4 separate regions of the Homo sapiens genome follow, and regions 1, 3 and 4 are each linked to region 2. The links are contacts of gene promoters, found by promoter capture Hi-C in human tissues and cell types (Jung and others, 2019). All regions are on one chromosome and are shown on one strand. Each heading gives the region's core, a stretch centred on a gene start or on the middle of the fragment in contact. The rest is flanking DNA. Distances are from core to core; before and after follow the strand shown.

The links. Contacts are between HindIII fragments. The study calls those that stand out against the background at their distance.
Region 1: a fragment that was not itself captured here is called in contact with the fragment with the promoter of TUBB4B in region 2 in 1 of the 25 tissues and cell types used here (dorsolateral prefrontal cortex).
Region 3: the fragment with the promoter of PNPLA7 here is called in contact with the fragment with the promoter of TUBB4B in region 2 in 1 of the 25 tissues and cell types used here (spleen).
Region 4: a contact is called between a fragment that was not itself captured here and the fragment with the promoter of TUBB4B in region 2, in 1 of the 25 tissues and cell types used here (dorsolateral prefrontal cortex).

Annotation. Positions count from the first base shown.
Region 1 is chr9:136,810,816-136,816,045 of GRCh38, reverse strand. All of the region lies in intron 1 of RABL6 (RAB, member RAS oncogene family like 6), which reads right to left. It also overlaps the pseudogene NCLP1. Among named protein-coding and RNA genes, the nearest start is that of CCDC183-AS1, 4.6 kb to the right of the region's middle. The HindIII fragment of the contact is 4,462 bases long and covers 604-5,065 here.
Region 2 is chr9:137,239,436-137,245,344 of GRCh38, reverse strand. It overlaps TUBB4B (tubulin beta 4B class IVb), which reads right to left and starts at 4,058. Exons shown (of 4, transcript NM_006088.6): 1 at 3,928-4,058; 2 at 3,516-3,624; 3 at 3,324-3,434; 4 at 1,638-2,849. The coding sequence starts at 3,984. The coding sequence ends at 1,789. CIMIP2A (ciliary microtubule inner protein 2A) reads left to right here. Exons shown (of 7, transcript NM_001001710.3): 3 at 1-38; 4 at 127-256; 5 at 609-703; 6 at 1,057-1,174; 7 at 1,557-1,746. The coding sequence ends at 1,645. RefSeq lists silencers at 3,654-3,883, 4,214-5,033. The HindIII fragment of the contact is 17,682 bases long and covers 1-5,503 here.
Region 3 is chr9:137,549,152-137,551,651 of GRCh38, reverse strand. PNPLA7 (patatin like domain 7, lysophospholipase) reads left to right here and starts at 1,250. Exons shown (of 35, transcript NM_001098537.3): 1 at 1,250-1,484. The coding sequence starts at 1,455. RefSeq lists a silencer at 1-451 and an enhancer at 1,640-2,141. The HindIII fragment of the contact is 18,703 bases long and covers 1-2,500 here.
Region 4 is chr9:136,888,951-136,894,919 of GRCh38, reverse strand. The region is part of intron 1 of TRAF2 (TNF receptor associated factor 2); the gene reads right to left. Among named protein-coding and RNA genes, the nearest start is that of MIR4479, 5.2 kb to the right of the region's middle. The HindIII fragment of the contact is 4,380 bases long and covers 806-5,185 here.

The sequences.
Region 1 (5,230 bases), core at 1,585-4,084, 430 kb after region 2:
CAGAATCTTAAATGTTGGCTGCAATAAGCTAAGTGATTCTCCTGGAAAACCTTTAGGATTCATCCAAGAAACGCTAAGAAGCCCTGTACTTACCTGTACTTAACCTCATGGTAAACCTGCTCTTTTACTAAACGGGATGTGAACACGACCTCTGTTCTAAGCTTGTTTTAGAAGATACAATGCAGAAAACACAGAGCTCTATTTGAGGCCCTGAGCCTTTCTTACCCTGATTCAATTTAACTCCTTCACATTCCTGCAGCTTTCCTGCAAAATATGGAATAATTTTCTTACATTTTCATACCAAGAAGAGCTTATGATTTATCTCAGATGCATGAAGGTTTAACTCCTAACCAGGCCCTCTCACAGTGCCAGCAGCATCTCCTGGGCCCATTACAAGGGCCCAGCCACCTCCCCACCCTGACAGCCTGTGCTGCAGCTGGTGTCAGCCACACCTTGCTCCTCTCCCACTCTGCACCCTGCAAAGATTTCCCATCCTCAGCAGCTTCAGACTACTTGGTGTCGAGGCAGGTAAAAACCAAGGTGACCCCAAGAAAATGGCTGCTCCCCCAAAGGAGGCAGAAGGAGGAAGTGAAGATGAGGAAATGTCAGAAGATGAAGAAGATGACAGCTGTGGAGAAGAGACTGTCACACCTCAGGAGAAAGGCAAGAAGGCTGCTGCAACCCCAGCCAAGAAGGTGACAGTTTCCCGAACAAAAAAGGCTGCAGGTGCCACACCCACCAAGAAAGCAACTGTCACTCCAGGCAAAGCAGTCGCCACACCTGCCAAGAAGGGAGCCATAGCAGGCAAAGCACTGGCAGCAGCTCCTGGCAAGAAGGGACACCCCAGCCAAGGGGGCAAAGAACGGCAAGAACGCCAAGAAGGAAGACAGCGATGAGGAGGAGGATGACTCTGAACCAGCAGTGATGAAGGCAGCAGCGGGTGCCCCTGCCTCAGGGGATGAGGACGAGGACGATGAGGACGATGCTGAGGAAGATGGCTCTGAAGCAGCACCTATGGAAACAACACCAGCCAAAGGAAAGAAAGCTTCTACAAATGCTGTTCCTGGGAAAGCCAAGAGGATGGCTGGGAATGAAGATGAAGAGGATGATGAGGACAAGGACGAGGGTGACGATGATGAAGAGGATGAAGTGATGAAGACGACAAAGAGGAGGAAGGGTCTGTCAAAGAAGCACCTGGAAAATGAAGGAAATGACCAAACAGCAGCTTCTGAAGCCAAGAAACACAAAGTGGAGAGTGAGAAGCACAGAACCAACTGTGCCTTTTTTTTTTTTTTAAGACAGGGTCTCACTCTCTCGCCCAGGTTGGACTGCAGTGGCGCAATCTTGGCTCACTGCAACCTTCACCTGCCAGGCTCAAGTGATTCTCCTGCTTCAGCCTCCTGAGTAGCTGGGATTACAGGCGTGTACCACTACCACCCGGCTAATTTTTGTATTTTTAGTAGAGACGGGGTTTCACCATGTTGGCCAGGCTGGAACGTCTTTCAATCTTTGTTGGAAACCTGAACTTTAACAAGTCTGCTCCTGAGTTAAAAACTAGTATCCATGGGCCAGGCCTGGTGGCTCACGCCTGTAATCCCAGCACTTTGGGAGGCTGAGGTGGACAGATCACAAGGTCAGGAGTTTGAGACCAGCCTGGCCAACATAATGAAACCCTGTCTCTACTAAAAATACAAAAATTAGCCGGGCGTAGTGGTGCGTGCCTGTAGTCCCAGCTACTGGGGAGGCTGAGGCAGGAGAATCACTTGAACCCGGGAGGTGGAAGCTGCAGTGAGCACCATTGCACTCCAGCCTGGGTAACAGAGCAAGACCCTGTCTCGAAAAAGAAAGAAAAACAAAAACTAGTATCCATGATATTTTTGCTAAAAATGATCTTGCTGTTGTGGATGTCAGAATGGGTATGACAAGGAAATCTGACTATGTGGATTTTCAAGCTGCTGAAGACCTGGAAAGAGCCTTGGAACTCGCTGGTTTGAAAGACTTTGGCAATGAAATTAAACTAGAGAAACCAAAAGGAAAAGACAGTAAGAAAGAGCAAGATGTGAGAATACTTTTGGCTACAAATCTCCCTTACAAAGTCACTCAGGATGAATTACAAGTGTTTTGGCTGGGCGCAGTGGCGCAGTGGCTCACACCTGTAATCCCAGCACTTTGGGAGGCCAAGGCAGGCAGATCACGAGGTCAGGAGATCAAGACCATCCTGGCTAACACGGTGAAACCCTGTCTCTACTAAAAATACAAAAAATTAGCTGGGTGTGGTGACGGGTGCCTGTAGTCCCAGCTACTCGGGAGGCTGAGGCAGGAAAATGGCGCAAACTTGGGAGGTGGAGCTTGCAGTGAGCTGAGATCACGGCCACTGCACTCCAGCCTGGGCAACAGAGCGAGACTCTGGCTCAAAAAACAAAAAAGTGTTTGAAGATGCTGTGGAGATTGGATTAGTCAGCAAGGATGGGAAGAGTAAAGGGACTGCTTATATTGAGGTTAAGACAGAAGCTAATGCAGAGAAAACTTCTGAAGAAACGCAGGGAACAGAGATGGATGGCCGATCTATTTCCCTGCACTATCATGGAGAGAAAGGTCTAAATCAAGACTAGAGAGACCACTTGGAGGGGTGAATCAAAAACTCTGGTTTAAGCAACCTCTCCTACAGTGCAACAGAAGAAACTCTTCAGAAAGAATCTGAGACAAGGCAACTTTTATCAAAGTGCCCCAGAACCAAAATGGCAAATCTAAAGGGTGTGCATGCACTTACAGTTCGCTTCATTTGAAGATGATAAAGCAGCTTTAAATTCCTGTAATAAAAGGGAAACTGGGGGCAGGGCAATCAGGCTGGAGTTGCAAGGACCACCTGATGCCAGGAGCCAGCCATCTAAAACTGTCTGTCAAAGGCCTGTCTGAGGACACCACTGAAGAGGCTTTAGTCATTCGACAGCTTTGTTGGGCAAGGGTAGTCACCAACCAGGAAACCGGGTGCCCCAAAGGCTTTGGCTCTGTAGATGGCAACAGTGAGGAGGATGCCAAAAGCGCCAAGGAGGCCGCGGAAGATGGTGAAATTGAGGGAAACAAAGGTAACTTGGACTGGGCCAAACCTAAGGGCGAAGGTGGCTTTGGGGTTGTGATGGAGGTAGAGGAAGCTTTGGAGGATGAGGTGGTGGCAGAAGCCAGGAAGGCTTTGGTGGGCGAGGCAGCTTCTGGGGAGGCAGAGGTGACCACAAGCCACAAGGAAAGAAGACAAAGTTTGAACGGCTTCTGTCCCTTTGTCTTTCCCTCTCCCATTTGAAAGAAAGGACGCTGGGGTTTTTATTCCGTTACCTGATCAATGACAGAGCTCTCTGAGGACATTCCAAGACAGTCTACAGTCCTGTGGTCTCCTTGGAAATTCGTATAGACAACATTTCAAGGGTAATACCTTCCTTGTTTGTTTTGACTGGATATTCATATAAACTTTTCTTTCTTTTCTTTTTTTTTTAAGACGAAGTCTCACTCTGTCGCCCAGGCTGGAGCGCAGTGGTGTGATCTTGGCTCACGGCAACCTCTGCCTCCCGGGTTCAAGCGATTCTCCTGCCTCAGCCTCCCGAGTAGCTGGGATTACAGGCATACGCCACCACACCTGGCTAATTTTCATATTTTCAGTAGAGATGAGTTTCATCATGTTGGCCAGGTTGGTCTTGAACTCCTGACCTCATGTAATCCGCCCACCTCAGCCTCCCAAAGTGCTGGGATTACAGGTGTGAGCCACCGTGCCCGGCCTGCTAAGTCCCATTTCTAAATTCGCACCAGTGTCTACTCAGAGAGGACTCTGGTTGTCCGAGCTCCTGGGCCAGGCCAGTATCAGAGCTGCACAATAATGCTCACTCAGGAGCAACTCCACAGAAAAATTCTGCACCAAATACAACTGATATTTTGTGTCCAGTCACAGTAGAAAGGGACAGACCAACTCAGGCAACAATCTTTCTTCCAAATAATTTCAAATAATTTTCCTAATAATTTTATATGCAAATAATTTCAAAATTGTGTAAACCAAAATTAAAATCCCAAGGCCTGCCAACCATCTGAATGGACTTCCTCTTCTAGGCCAGGGCCATCCAAATTTCATCTGAAAGACTGGTTCAGGCCATTATGGGAAGAGGGGAGTCAGACAGGCCTCATTGTGGCCTCCTCCCTTCTGGAATTCAGGAAAAGCTCACCAGCATTTAACATCAACACTGACTTTAAGTCTGATAAGAAACATAATCTGGCCAGGCGCGGTGGCTCACGCCTGTAATCCCAGCACTTTGGGAGGCCAAGGGGTTCGGACTGCTTGAGTAGAGGGGTCTGAGCCCAGCTGGGCAACGTGGTGAAACCCTGTCTCTCTAAAAAATACCAAAATTAGCTGGGTGTGGTGGTGCAATTGTTTTTTTTTTTTTTTTTGAGACAGGGTCTGACTCTGTCACCCAGGCTGGAGTGCAGTGGCACAATCTCAGCTCACTGTAACTTCTGCCACTTGGGCTCAAGCGATTCTCCCGCCTCAGCCTCCTGAGTAGCTGGGATTACAGGCACCCACCATCACACCCGGTTAATTTTTATAGTTTTAGTAGAGACGGGGTTTCGACATGTTGGCCAGGCTGGTCTTGAACTCCTGGCCTCAGGTTGTCCGCCTGCCTCGGCCTCTCAATGTGCTGAGATTACAGGCGTGAGCCACCGCGCCCGGCAAAAAAACACAATTTTTTTAAACTACCTCCGACCTGGAAGCCCCCACTTCAAGTTGTCCCGCCTTTGTGGACCAAATCAACATATATCTTAAATGTATTTGATTACTGTCTCATGTCTAAAATGTATAAAACCAAGCTGTGCCCTCCACCTTGGGCACATGTCCTCAGGGTCACCTGAGGGCTATGTCACGAGCCATGGTCACTCATATTCAGCTCAAAAATAAATCTCTTCAAATATTTGACAGAGTTTGACTTTTTCATCCATTATGGTCCAATGTCTCATTCGAGTTTTTATTCTAAAACCAGTGGGTGTCCCACACGTCTACCGGGACCACTAGCAACTCCGAGCAAATGCAGGGCCCAGGAGGAGAGCCCAGACTCCTGGAAACCCGCAGCAGTTCCCAGAAACTCTCACCCCCAAAACCCTCGACTCTGTCTTGATCACATTGCTGGTCTGTTACGCTCTGTAAAATATTTGAGAAAATAAATACCAGAAAGCCGGGCATGGTGGCTTACGCCTG
Region 2 (5,909 bases), core at 2,809-5,308:
GCGCCACTCCTGTTTGCGAGGCCCCCAGGCAGCACCAGGCAGCCAGGGGATGCACCAGTGCCAAGCCCATTCCGCTCAGCCCCAGGTGGGAGCTGCACCGTGACCTCCGCTTCCTCCCCGCTCCAGCTGTACCACTGCCAGAGGGATGAGTACCCACCCCCCGCCCGCCGCCAGCAGGAGACGCTAGATGTGGGCAGCTTCCAGCGGCTGCCGCAGCTGGACCACCCTAACCTAATCCAACGCAAGGCCATCTCAGGTGGGTGTGGGCCTGGGCTGGGCTGGAGAAGGCCGCCCCTCCCCACAAGGTTCTTGCAGTGTGAGAGCCCCTGAGGAGGCTGCCACAGGGGCCCACTTTTCCTGCTCCAGAACAGGCTAGCGGCCTGGGGGGACCTCCTCTGCCTCCCAGCTGCTTCCAGGAGCCCAGCTTTTCCCAAGACGAGGCGGTGCCTTGCCTGCCTGTTCCCATTTGGCCACATCAGACAGTCGCCAACGTTCAGGGAACGAAAGGGAGCCTTGCCTGGCTTCCCTGACACGTCTGAGGGCAGGTGGGTGTGCCCAGGGGAAGGCTAAGGGGGCTTGGGGTAGCCCGTACATCTGCCTACCCCCAGGCTATGCTGGCTTCATTCCCCGTTTCACCTGGGTAATGGGGTTGAATTACCGAGACGGCGTCATGCAAGCCATGGACGAATTCGACAAGAGCCAGGTAGGAAAGCGCCATCCAGGGCCTGCTCCCAGCTCACACACACACTTCCTCTCCTGCCTGGCAGCTTCCCTGGAGGGTGCCTTGAAGGCCAGGTTCCCTGAGAAGCCTGAGGAGGGGGCTCTGCCTGGCTCTCTCCTGTCCCCGGAGGTGCCGCCCCAACCCCTCTCTCCTGAGTCTTGCTTGGATCCCTGCACTCAAGTTTTGGAGTCGGGGGTAGGGGGATGCAGAAGGCTGGGAGCATTAGCAGCTTTCCCACGGAGTGCCGGCCCTCCGGCCAGGCCCCCACTGGGACAACTTGACTATCTGTTTGCCTGCCGGGGAGGGAGCTTGTTAGCACCTTCCTGTCTCCCCAGTTCCTGTTTAGAAACCCCCACTGTGACCTGGGCGAGAAGCTGCCTGGAACACACTGGCCCAGCAACCACATCTACAGCAGCCAAGGCCTGATCCCCTTCTACATGGGGTTCATCCCCGGTGAGTAGAGTGGGCAGGGTCACATGGACACACCCCGGCCAATGTGGGGAGGGACGGCTCTACCTGCTCACCCTTCATTGCTGGTTCAGGACCACCTGTCTGACCATTACCAGGGTCCCACCTTGGTTGGGGTAGGATTGTCTGCCATCCTCCCTACCCCTTTTGGAAGGGGGGTCACTGGACCCACCTAAGTCCCAGACACAGGCCGAGCCCCAAGGTTGGGTACCTGGAACAGGACAGGCCTGCCTTCAACAAGCAAGTTCCCCACCAAGCAGATACCCAGGGCCCAGGGCAGCCCCACACTTCTCTGAAGCCTGGGTGTCCAGCCCATGCTGGTCCTGGGCACATAAGCCCAGCTCAGCTGCAGCCTGGCTCCCCGCAGCCATGCAGGACAACTACGCCCTGACATTCGGCAACAGCACCCGGAGGGCCTACTGGAAGGAATGGGCAAAGCGAAACCACACACTATGAAAATGCTTTAATGGTGGTGTCTGTACAGCATGGATGTGGACAGGGAAAACAGCAAGTGCACACAGTGGGACAGGCCACAGGACAGGCTGGGAGTGAATAAAGAGTTCACACTGCTTCCCTGCTTTCCCCAGTGACTGAAGGCTCTAGGCCACCTCCTCCTCAGCCTCCTCCTCGAACTCGCCCTCCTCCTCGGCTGTGGCATCCTGGTACTGCTGGTACTCGGACACCAGGTCATTCATGTTGCTCTCGGCCTCGGTGAACTCCATCTCGTCCATGCCCTCGCCCGTGTACCAGTGCAGGAAGGCCTTGCGCCGGAACATGGCCGTGAACTGCTCGGAGATGCGCTTGAACAGCTCCTGGATGGCCGTGCTGTTGCCAATGAAGGTGGCGGACATTTTTAGCCCCCGAGGTGGGATGTCACAGACAGCCGTTTTCACATTGTTGGGGATCCACTCAACAAAATAGCTGCTGTTTTTGTTTTGGACATTAAGCATTTGCTCATCCACCTCCTTCATGGACATGCGGCCCCTGAACACGGCGGCAACCGTCAGGTAGCGGCCATGGCGGGGGTCGCAGGCAGCCATCATGTTCTTGGCATCAAACATCTGCTGGGTGAGCTCGGGCACGGTCAGCGCCCGGTACTGCTGGCTGCCCCGGCTGGTCAGTGGGGCAAAGCCGGGCATGAAGAAGTGCAGCCGGGGAAACGGGACCATGTTCACAGCCAGCTTCCGCAGGTCAGCATTGAGCTGGCCTGGGAAGCGCAGGCAGGTGGTGACCCCACTCATGGTAGCAGACACCAGGTGGTTCAGGTCACCATAGGTGGGCGTGGTCAGCTTTAGGGTTCTGAAGCAAATGTCGTAGAGAGCTTCGTTATCAATGCAGTAGGTCTCGTCTGTGTTTTCTACGAGCTGGTGGACTGAGAGGGTGGCGTTGTAGGGCTCCACCACTGTGTCTGACACTTTGGGCGAAGGCACCACACTAAACGTGTTCATGATCCTGTCTGGGTACTCCTCCCGGATCTTGCTGATGAGGAGGGTACCCATCCCAGACCCAGTCCCCCCACCCAGGGAGTGGGTCAGCTGGAAACCCTGCAGGCAGTCACAGCTCTCAGCCTCCTTTCTCACAACATCCAGCACCGAGTCCACCAGCTCCGCGCCTTCTGTGTAGTGCCCCTTGGCCCAGTTGTTCCCAGCACCACTCTGACCTGTGAGAGAACACAGCTAATCATTTGTCAGCCAGGTAGACAGCACTACTGGTCACCGCCATGCGAAAAAAGCCGAGTGACATGGTGTGAGCTGACCACAGAATTCACCCTGGAGGTAGAGCAAACGGACCCTTCAAAGCCAAAAGACGGCAGCCTGCCCTGCTACGAATTAAGTCAGGGGCCAAACCTGACAGCTTAACAAACCCCTCCCCGGGGGGGCCACTGCCAATTCCCAAGGACAGAGGAACAGCCACTGCCCCAGCTCAGCTCCCTGCAGGGAGATTACGTGTGTGGCGGCTCCTCGCCTCGGCAGACAGCTGGACCTTGCTCCCAAAGCCGATTTAGTAGAGGGGATTGAGTGGCTCAGAGAAGAGGAGGGCGTCCAGGGGCCCCGGCTGCGCAGTTCCCACGGCGGTGCCCTTGGAGCAGCCCCTTGACCTTTGAGCCGCCGCCCAGTCCCCAGCCACGGCTCACCGAAAACGAAGTTGTCCGGCCGGAAGATCTGCCCGAAGGGCCCCGAGCGCACGGAGTCCATGGTGCCGGGCTCCAGATCCACGAGCACGGCGCGGGGCACGTACTTGCCGCCTGCGGGGACGGGAGGGCGTCAGCCAAGGCAGGGGCCGCGGGGTCCCCGGAGGGCGGTCGGGGAAGGGGCCGGGGCCTCACCGGTGGCCTCATTGTAGTACACGTTGATGCGTTCCAGCTGCAGGTCGCTGTCCCCGTGGTAGGTGCCCGTGGGGTCGATGCCGTGCTCATCGCTGATCACCTCCCAAAACTACAAGGGACGCGGGCGGGCCCGGGCGGGCCGGGGCTGAGTCACCGCGGCCGGTGCGCAGGGAGGCAGCCCCGCCCCGGACGGGCGCGGCAGCCCGGCCCTCCCCGCCCCTCCCCCGCCCCGCGCGCCCTGGCCGCCGGGTTCCTGGGGGCTTCGGTCGCCCGGCTCGGCCAATTCCCCGCGGAGGGGGCCCGGCGGCCGCAATGCGGGGGCGCCGCCCGGCCGCTGCTGCCGCCATCTTCCCCGGCCGCCCGCCCACACCGCCCGGCAGGCCCGCCTGGCCCCAGCGCCCCGGCAACTTACCTTGGCGCCGATTTGGTTGCCGCACTGCCCGGCCTGCAAGTGCACGATTTCCCTCATGATGGCGGCGGCGGCGGCGGGGAAGCAGGAGGAAGTAGACAAACAGCAGCAGAAGAGCGGGCGCGCAGAGTGCTACAACCGACGCTCCGCCAACGCTTATATACCCTCCCTGCCCGCCTCCGCTAGTCTCGGAATGGGCTGCCAGAACGAGGCTGGCAAGCTCCCTCGTTTGATTGGCCTTGCCCCCGTCAATCAAGCTGCCTAAGGTCCGCCTTTTTAAGCCAGTTTGGTCTTTATTGGTCAGCCGCAGCCTCCTATCTCCCTATCACAATCCCCCTCCTGGCGCCGCAGTGCTCCGTCCATTGGGTGTTTCAAATGATTGATTTGCCGTCTCATTGGCTGGCTGCCGGGAGCACGCCGCCAGGCTGGCGCTATTGGCTGCGCTGCTTCAGCGTCCTGGTAACCGCCGCAGTGCCGCGGCCGGCGCGCGGACGGGGTGGGGCGCAGGCGCGAGTGCGGGCTTCCGGTCGGGCGGCGGGCAGCTGCGCTGGGGGCGCCGAGGGAGGGCGGGCCCGACGGGCCTCGGGCAAGCGCAGTCTTGGCTCTGAGCCCGGGGCCTTTCGGGAGCCGGGAAGGGCAGGCTCGGTGGCGGCCCCACGTCCAGAGTTGCGCCCTCTCTGGCCTTGCGCCGGGACACGGCATCTGCGCGCTGGGCGGGTTCTGGAGCGGGGTCCGCACGGAGCGAGCCCGGGGCCTCCAGGCCGAGGAGGCTGCGATGCCTTAAAGGCAGGAAGATACACGGGCTCGGGGGCTGCGGCGGTGGAGGGGAGCTCTCCACAGAGCCGCAGAGGCCACGGAGTTTCCTGCTCCCGGGTGCCGCACGCCCACTGCCCTCGCGGTCGCGTGAGGGGAGCACGTGGGGGACGCCGCGCCCCGAGGGCCGGGGCGGAGGGCAGGGGAGGGGAGCGGAGGGGCGAGGCCTCCCCCGCAGCTGCGCGCCCTGCCCTGTTGTGGAGACGGCGCTGGCTCTGCGCCGGTCGCCTTGGTGCCTCGGCCCCGTGAGTGCGCGAGCTCCGTGGAGACCAGGACAGCGCCCAGACCTCCCTCGGCGGGTGGGCCCCGACCTCCGGGCTCCAGGGCCGGTATTCCAACCACAGGTCAGCGCGCTGGGGCTGAAACATACTTCTGTTAATGCTTTTCCTAATTTATGACTTGATTTTTACTTGGGTGGGAAAAGAAACTTAAAATGAATTACATGTGGTTGCGCCTGTTTAAAAACAAACGGGCTGTATTTTTGCAGCATTTTTATTTTACTTAATTTATTATTCTGAGACAGAGTCTCGCTCTGTCTCCCGGGCTGGAGTGCAGTGGCGCGATCTTGGCTCCCCGCCCCCCCCCAGGTTCAAGCGATTCTTCTGCCTCAGCCTCCCCAGTAGGTGGGACTGCAGGCACCCACCACCACGCCGCTAATTTTTGTATTTTTGGTAGAAATGGGATTTCACCATGTTGGCCAAGCTGGTCTGAAACTCCTGACCTCAAGTGATCCGCCCGCCTCGGCCTCCCCAAGTGCTCGGATTTACGGGAATGAGCCGCCGTGCCTTCTACATTTTTGTAGCTTTTTTCTTTTTTTTTTGAGATGGAGTTTTGCTCTTGTCGCCTAGGCTGGAGTGCAGTGGCGCAATCTCAGCTCGCTGCAACCTCTGCCTCCCCGGTTCAAGCAATTCGCCTGCCTCACCTTCCCAAGTAGCTGGAACTACAGGTGTGCACCACCACGCCTGGCTATTTTTTTTTTTTTTTTTTTTTGAGACAGAGTCTGGCTCCGTCGCTCAGGCTGGAGTGCAGTGGCATGATCTCGGCTCACTGCAACCTCCATCTCCCGGGTTCAAGCGATTCTCCTGCCTCAGCCTCCCGAGTAGCTGGGATTACAGGCGCCCGCCACCACGCCCGGCTAATTTCTGTATTTTTAATAGAGATGGGGTTTCACC
Region 3 (2,500 bases), core at 1-2,500, 310 kb before region 2:
CTGGCGGATGAGTGATCGCTCTCAGCGCGGTGGTCCCTGGCGTCTCCACTGCCCGCCACTGCCTGTGTTCGTCCGCCAGGTGGCCGGCGGTTTCCCGGGAGCCCAGTCCCCCTGAGGCCGTGAGGTGGCGTCGGGAGGTCGGGGAGGACGCGGGCCCTGGACTCGAGACGGCCGCCGCGTTGACGCCGCGACCCTGCCTTTCTTACCCCTCCGCCGGGCGCGGCTCCTCTGGGCGGAGCCGGCAACCGCGCGGGGAAAGCCCGGGACCTGCAGCCGGGAGGGCCCGGGCTGTCTGTGCTCCCCCGCAGGCCGGGCAGTGGTGTGGGGGGACTCGAGCCCTCGCGGTGCCCAAATTAATCAATAATCTTGGACCCAGCACGTCCGGCTTGCGCACTGAGCCCTCCTGCCCGGTCACCCTCGCAGGCGACCTCTCACCCCACGCGGAAGTCGCCCCCCAGCCGCACCCTCACAATCCGGATCCACCCCCTCCCCAGCTGCACCCCGTCCCCAGCGGCACCCCCACAGCCCAGATCCATCCCCTCTCCAGCTGCACGCCCTTCCCCAGCGGTACCCCCACACCCCAGATCCATCCCCTCCCCAGCTGCACCCCCTCCCCAGCGGCACCCCCACGCCCCAGATCCACCCCCTCCCCAGCTGCACCCCCTCCCCAGCGGCACCCCCACGCCCCAGATCCACCCCCTCCCCAGCTGCACCCCCTCCCCAGCGGCACCCCCACACCCCAGATCCACCCCCTCCCCAGCTGCACCCCCTCCCTAGCGGTACCCCCACTCGCCGGATCCACGCGCTCCCCAGCTGCACCCTCTCCCCAGCAGTACCCCCACACCCCAGATCCACCCCCTCCCCAGCTGCACCCACTCCCCAGCGGTACCCCTACACGCCGGATCCACCCCCTCCCCAGCTGCACCCACTCCCCAGCGGCACCCCCACACCCCAGATCCACCCCCTCCCCAGCTGCACCCACTCCCCAGCGGTACCCCTACACGCCGGATCCACCCCCTCCCCAGCTGCACCCTCCTCCCCAGCTGCATCCCCACACCCCGGATCCACGCCCCGCCAGCGTCACCTCCCCTCCAGCCGTGCTTCTCCAGAAGGCAGCGCTGCCCCCATCCCCGCCGCGCTGGGCCTGGCTCCTCTTGACCTGCTTGGATACGCCCCATCTGGCTGCTGTTCTGGGTTCCGGGACAGCCACGTGAGGGCTGTTTACAGAGGGAAGGAGGTGGCTCCTAGCAGATGACAGACACTTCTCAAAAGACAGCTTTTCTTCCTGGAGAACAGACTTTTTCAGCAGGATTTTCCTTTCAGTGAAACATAATTTGACTTGAAAGGAACCCAGGGAAAAGTGTCCAGGTGTGAGCATGAGCGGGTAGAGGTGTGCCCTTGTTTGCTTCAGGCTGTCTGCTTTTCGCCCCTGACTGTTTTTTCTGTTTCTGGCCATGGAGGAAGAGAAAGATGACAGCCCACAGGTATGTAACTCGGGGGACCAGATGCCTGGATTTCCCAGTTGGGGGGCATTTCTGGACCCAGAGAAGGGTCCTCTTGGCGTCTGCTCTGCCGCGCTCTTTGGCCCCGTGGCTTCTTGGCGCCTGAGGACTGTGGGAGTGGTGGATCTGGCCCCTCTCTGCTGCCTGTCACAGCTGCCAGCACTTGTTAGACGCGCCTGTCACAGCAGACAGCCAGTGGTGGCCCATGGGCATTGTTCACAGCGAGGGCAGCCAGCGGTGGCCCATGGGCATTGCCTGAGGCCTTGTCTTTTCTTCCCCTAAGGTCACAGTTGCTACTTCCAGTTCCTTTAGGACTTTGCCTGATGGTTTTGCTTAGAACCTTTTTCTGTGTTTTTTTTTTTCCCAAGACGGAGTCTCGCTCTGTCGCCCAGGCTGGTGTGCAATGGTGTGATCTTGGCTCACAGCAACCTCCGCCTCCTGGGTTCAGGCAATTCTGCCTCAGCCTCCCGGGTAGCTGGGACTACAGGCACCACGCCCGGCTAATTTTTGTATTCTTAGTAGAAACGGGGTTTCGCCATGTTGGCCAGGCTGGTCTTGAACTTTTTTTTTTTTTTTTTTTGAGACGGAGTCTTGCTCTGTCGCCCAAGCTGGATTGCAGTGGCACGATCTCAACTCACTGCAAGCTCTGCCTCCCAGGTTCACGCCATTCTCCTGCCTCGGCCTCCCAAGTAGCTGGGACTACAGGCGCCCACCACCACGCCCGGCTAATATTTTTTTGTATTTTCAGTAGAGACGGTGTTTCACTGTGTTAGCCAGGATGGTCTCGATTTCCTGACCTCGTGATCCGCCCGCCTTGGCCTCCCAAAGTGCAGGGATTACAGGCATGAGCCACCGTGCCCGGCCTAGTCTTGAACTCTTGACCTCATGATCTGCCCGCCTCGGCCTCCCAAAGTGCTGGGATTACAGGCGTGAGACACTGTGCCCAGCCCTAGAATCTTTTTCTTAGTCAAACATCTGTAGCCACATGGCAAAGGCCT
Region 4 (5,969 bases), core at 1,746-4,245, 350 kb after region 2:
TACAGGTTGGAAGTCCTGGGCTCAAGCGATCCTCCCGCCAGTTTCTCCAGTGGCTGGGACTACAGGTGAGTGCACCTCCATGCCCAGCTATCCAGGATGCTTTCTGAGCCCATTCCTTGTCCAATCACAGGCCAATTCCACTGGCTCTGCCTCCATGCTGCCAGCACTAGCCCCTTCTCTGGCCCCGACCCTGCTCTCTGCTCCTCCTTCATACCCACAATAGGGCACCCCTCACTGAGGGCTCCCTAGGAACATCCTGGGCACTCAGAAGGAAACCCGGCCACTGGGTTTAGCCCCATCTGGCCTTGTCCCCCTCCATCCTCATGATGCCCCCAATCCCCCTGCTCTCCTCTGTTCCCTTAACACCTTTGCCCTGCTTGGAAGAGCCCCGGTGCTGGTCCCTATGGATCTGCACACCTGCCCCTTGGCAACCCTGAGGTGGGCCTAAGAAGCCTGCGCCCAGGACAAGGCCCAGCAGCCTTCCGAGACTTGCCTCCAACTCCCATGTAATGTCCCCAGATCTCAAAAAGTGGAAGGAAAGTTTACCTGTAAACCCCTGAAAAAGGGCCACTACCAGCCAGGTGCGGTGGCTCACGCCTGTAATCCCAGCACTTTGGGAGGCCGAAGCAGGCAGATCACGAGGTCAAGAGATCGAGACCATCCTGGCCAACATGGTGAAACCCTGTCTCTACTAAAAATACAAAAATTAGCCGGACATTGTGGTGTGTGCCTGTAATCCCAGCTACTGTGGAGGCTGAAGCAGGAGAATTGCTTGAACCCAGCAAGCAGAGGTTGCAGTGAGCTGAGATCATACCACTTCACTCCAGCCTGGGCGATGAGGCAAGACTCCATTTCAAAAAAAAAAAAAAAAAGGCCAGGCGCAGTGGCTCACACCTGTAATCCCAGCACTTTCGGAGGCCAAGGCAGGAGAATCACGAGGTCAGGAGTTTGAGACCAGCCCGACCAACATGGTGAAACCCCATCTCTAGTAAAAATACAAAAATTAGCCGGGCGTGGTGGTGCACGCCTGTAATCCCAGCTACTCAGGAGGCTGAGGCAGGAGAATCGCTTGAACCCGGGAAGGAGAGGTTGCAGTGAGCCGATATTGCACCACTGCACTCCAGCCTGCGCATTGCAGTGAGACTCCGTCTCGAAAAAAAAAGTAAAAAAGAAAAAGGGTCACTACCACACAGACCCCAAATAGGAGGTGCTTTTTAAGTCAGAAAAACTTAGGCCCCAAGACAACCATCCTCAGCTCTCTGCAAACATTCCCCAAAGTTTCCTTGACCTGGCTCACCAACGAAAGCACATTCCAAGTGTCTTCCCCAGACGGTGCGCCAACCCTGCAGACCCATGGGGCTGGCCCCTCTAATCCTCTACAGGAGAGACACGTGGACTGCCAAAACTGACGCCGCATACAGGACTGGGGAACGCAGAGTGCAGCGACCTCATCCCTGACCTGCGCTCACTGACCTGAATAGGGCTGACTCTTGAGAAACTGTGACGAGACTGTCAGTCACCTGTCTGCCCCCCAAAGCCAGCAGTGGTGTGCTTTCAATCCCAGCTTCTGAATCTGTAATTTAGTGAGACCTTACATTCGTGTGGCACTTCAGAGTTCAGAAAACATGCTTATAACCTAAACTTACTCCTCCAACCACCCAACAGAAGGGACGCTGGGGCTCTGCCTGCCCAGTGCTCAAGGTCCCTCGGTGGGGACGCCACACCTGTTTCTCCCACTTTCTCGAAGGTGGGTGCACCTGCTCCTGTGGGCGGCAGAGCTATGTGGATGTTCCGGAGCTCACAGATGCATACCAGCCGTGGCAAACTGAGGTGGTAGCCTGCTCACCAGGACTGCACCCTCAGCGCACATTCATCATGACATGTGGAGACGTGCTACATACATGTACGTCACTAAAAGGTTCACAGAACTACACTTAGTCTTCATAAGAGGCATTCTGAGTGTTCTATTTTCTTTCTTTTGTTCTGGTCAGAAGCTATTACATTGATTTCATGAGCCACTAATGGTTTATTTATTTATTCATGTGAGACAGAGTCTTGCTCTGTCGCTCAGGCGGGAGTGCAACGGTGTGATCTAAGGTGCAACCTCCGCCTCCCAGGTTCAAGCGATTCTCCTGCCTCAGCCTCCCGAGTAGCTGGGATTACAGACGCCTGTCACCACGCCTGGCTAATTTTTGTATTTTTAGTAGAGACAGGGTTTCACCATGTTGGCCAGGCTGGTCTCGAACTCCTGACCTCAGATAATCTGCCCACCTCAATCTCCCAAAGTGCTGAGATTATAGGCATGAGCCACTGTGCCTGGCTGAGCCACTAACAGTTTAAAAAGGTTTAATGGTTTTAGAACAAAGTGGCTTCTAATCCACTTTGGACAAAGAAATTTTCTATTTTTAAGTATCATTGGTTTTTAAGCCACATTCTTTTTATTTATTTATTTTTTTGAGACGGAGTCTCGCTCTGTCGCCCAGGCGGGAGTGCAGTGGCGCGATCTTGGCTCACTGCAACCTCCACCGCCCAGGTTCACGCCATTCTCCTGCCTCAGCCTCCCAAGTAGCTGGGACTACAGGCACCAGTCACCATGCCCAGCTAATTTTTTGTATTTTTTAGTAGAGACGGGGTTTCACCGTGTTAGCCAGGATGGTCTCGATCTCCTGACCTCGTGATCTGCCCGCCTCGGTCTCCCAAAGTGCTGGGATTACAGGCGTGAGCCACCGCGCCTGGCCTTAAACCACATTCTTTAGGACAAAATCCTATTTTATACTTATTATAAGATGTTAAATAGGATATAAAATGTGAAGAACCCTATGAGTGCAGTCATGCCAGTGTACGAATGGGGCAAGAAAGTAAAATAAAGGATCGTTTTGCTAGGGTAGACAGATTCAGAATGGGCCGGGCACGGTGGCTCATGCCTGTAATCCCAGCACTTTGGGAGGCTGAGGCGGGTGGATCACCTGAGGTGGTGATCGAGACCAGCTTGACCAACATGGAGAAACCCATTTCTACTAAAAACACAAAATTAGCCGAGTGCAGTGGCTCACGCCTGTAATTCCAGCTACTTGGGAGGCTGAGGCAGGAGAATCGCTTGAACCTGGGAGGCAGAGGTTGCAGAGAGTCAAGATCGCACCACTGCTCTCCAGCTTGGGCACAAAGAGCGAAACTTCGTCTCAAAAAAAAAAAAAAGATTCAGGGTGAGCGTTCTTTTTTCCCAATGTCACTGAAGAGTGTCCTGGTGCATCTTTCAGACAAAGCTTGATTCTTTTCATATCGACATTCCTCCTAAATGCGCTCTTGAAGGTGGAGACAGAGGTGTGCCCTCCCTGCCCTAGGCATGCCTGTCAGACATAAAAGAACCACAAAAATGGGCCAGGCATGGTGGCTCACACCTATAATCCCAGCACTTTGGGAGGCCGAGGTAGGCAGATTGCTTGAGCTCAGGAGTTCAAGACCAGCCTGGGGAACATGATGAAACCCTGTCTCTACCAAAAACACAAAAAAATGGCTGGGCGCGGTGGCTCACACTTGTAATCCCAGCACTTTGGGAGGCCGAGGCGGGCGGATCATGAGGTCAGGAGTTCAAGACCAGGCTGGCCAACATGGTGAGACCCCGTCTCCACTAAAAATACAAAAAATTAGCCAGGCATGGTGGTGCAAGCCTGTAAGCCCAGCTACTCCAGAGGCTGAGGCAGAAGAATCGCTCAAACCTGAGAGGCGGAGGTTGCAGTGAGCTGAGATCATGCCACTGCACTCCAGCCTGAGCAAGAGCAACCATCTGTCTCAAAAACAAAACACACATAAAAAAACAAATCTAAAAATACAAAAAATGGCCAAGTGTGATGGCATGCATCTGTGGTCCCAGCTACTCAGGAGGCCGAGGTGGGAGGATCTCGCATCTGTGGTCCCAGCCACTCAGGAGGCTGAGGTGGGAGGATCACCTGAGCCTGGGGAGGAGGAGGCTGCAGTGAGCCGAGGTTCACAACAAAGTGCACGTCCTCCACCACCGGCAGACGCTTCTCACAGACACGGCCTCACGTGGCCATCGTGACATCCTGACACGGCTGGAAGGTCGGGGATCATTATTCCTGTTTCCAAATGAAAACACAACCCCAGACAGCCAGGACACGGCAGGCAGCCCGGTCAGGGGACCCTGAGGTCCCACTGATGCCCACACTACACTCTGGGGTTCTTTGTGCTTAGAGATTCCTTAAACATTTTATTTGAATCTCATTCATAAATACATTTTAAGAACTAATGAAAACCACCACGAAGGCTCAAAAGTGCTACACCAAGATTTTAGCACACTTCTGACAGTGCCCCAATTTGCGCACATGTTGGAATCCGACTTCCACTGTGCCTAGCACTTACCAGAACCTCCTCCGGCTTAGACTAGGGAGCTCTCAGTGGCCTACACACGAGGCAGGAGGAACTGAACTGAACACCATGGTCACCTGAACCAGACACACAGACTGAGACCTGGTGCGCGGCCGGACGGCATGGGCTGCTCTTGCTTTCTGTACGTATCATAAGAGACGTGAGGGGTCAGCTAGGAGCGATTCAACCTGGAAACGAACAATGTGCTGCTGGTTTTTTCAGGCTTCCAGATCAGTTTTACTCTAAAACTCCCAATTCTATCAGCTAAGTCAGCTAAAAACAAAAGTGCCACCCCCGTGGTGACCAGCTGAACGAGCGTGTGGTGGGGACTCTCACACATGCGGTGACCGACTGAACGAGCGTGCGGTGGGGACTCTCACACACACGGTGACCGGCTGAACGAGCGTGCAGTGGGGACTCACACGCGGTGACCGGCTGAACAAGCGTGCGGTGGGGACTCACACACGCGGTGACCGGCTGAACGAGCGTGCGGGGGGGACTCACACACGCGGTGACCGGCTGAACGAGCGTGCGGTGGGGACTCTCACACACGCGGTGACCGGCTGAACGAGCGTGCGGTGGGGACTCTCACACACGCGGTGACGAGCTGAACAAGCATGCGGGGGTGATTATCACACATGCGGTGACCGACTGAATGAGCATGCGGGGATGACTGTCACAAATGTAGTGACCGACTGAATGAGCATGCAGGGGCGACTCTCACACAAGTGGTGACCGACTGAATAAGTGTGGGGGGAACTCTCACACATGCGGTGACCAACTGACACAGTGGCTTGCACCTGTAATCCCAGCTACTTGGGAGGCTGAGGTTGGAGGATCACTTCAGGCCAGGAGTTCGAGACCAGCCTGGGAAACATAACAAGACCTCAGGTATAAAAATAAAATAACAAAAAAGTTAAAATGGCAAAGAAATGTCAAAAACAGGTTTTAAGGCCGGGCAAGGTGGCTCATACCTGTAATCCCAGCACTTTGGGAGTGCCAAGGCAGGTGGATCACCTGAGGTCAGGAGTTCGAGACCAGCCTCACCAAAGTGGAGAAACCCTGTCTCTATTAAAAACACAAAAATTAGCCGGGCATTATGGTGGGTGCCTGTAATCCCACCTACTCTGGAGGATGAGGCAGGAGAATCACTTGAACCTGGGAGGCAGAGGTTGCAGCGAGCCGAGATCGCACCATTGCACTCCAGCCTGGGCAACAAGAGCGAAACTCTGTCTCAAAAAAAGAAAAAAAAAGGCCAGGCGTGGTGGCTCACACCGGGGGACAGAGCGAGACTCCGTCTCAAAAAAAAAAAAAAAACAGAAAAAACCACACAAACAAAAAAAGAAAAACAAACAAACAAGTTTTAACGTAAAAAAGCCCCTCAGTGGTGGCTCACACCTGTAATCCCAGCACTCTGGGAGGCCGAGGTGGGCGGATCACGAGATCAGATCGAGACCACCCTGGCTAACATGGTGAAACCCCGTCTCCATTAAAAATACAAAAAATTAGCTGGGCGTGGTGGCGGGTGCCTGTAGTCCAGCTACTCGGGAGGCTGAGGCAGAAGAATAGCGTGAACCCAGGAGGCA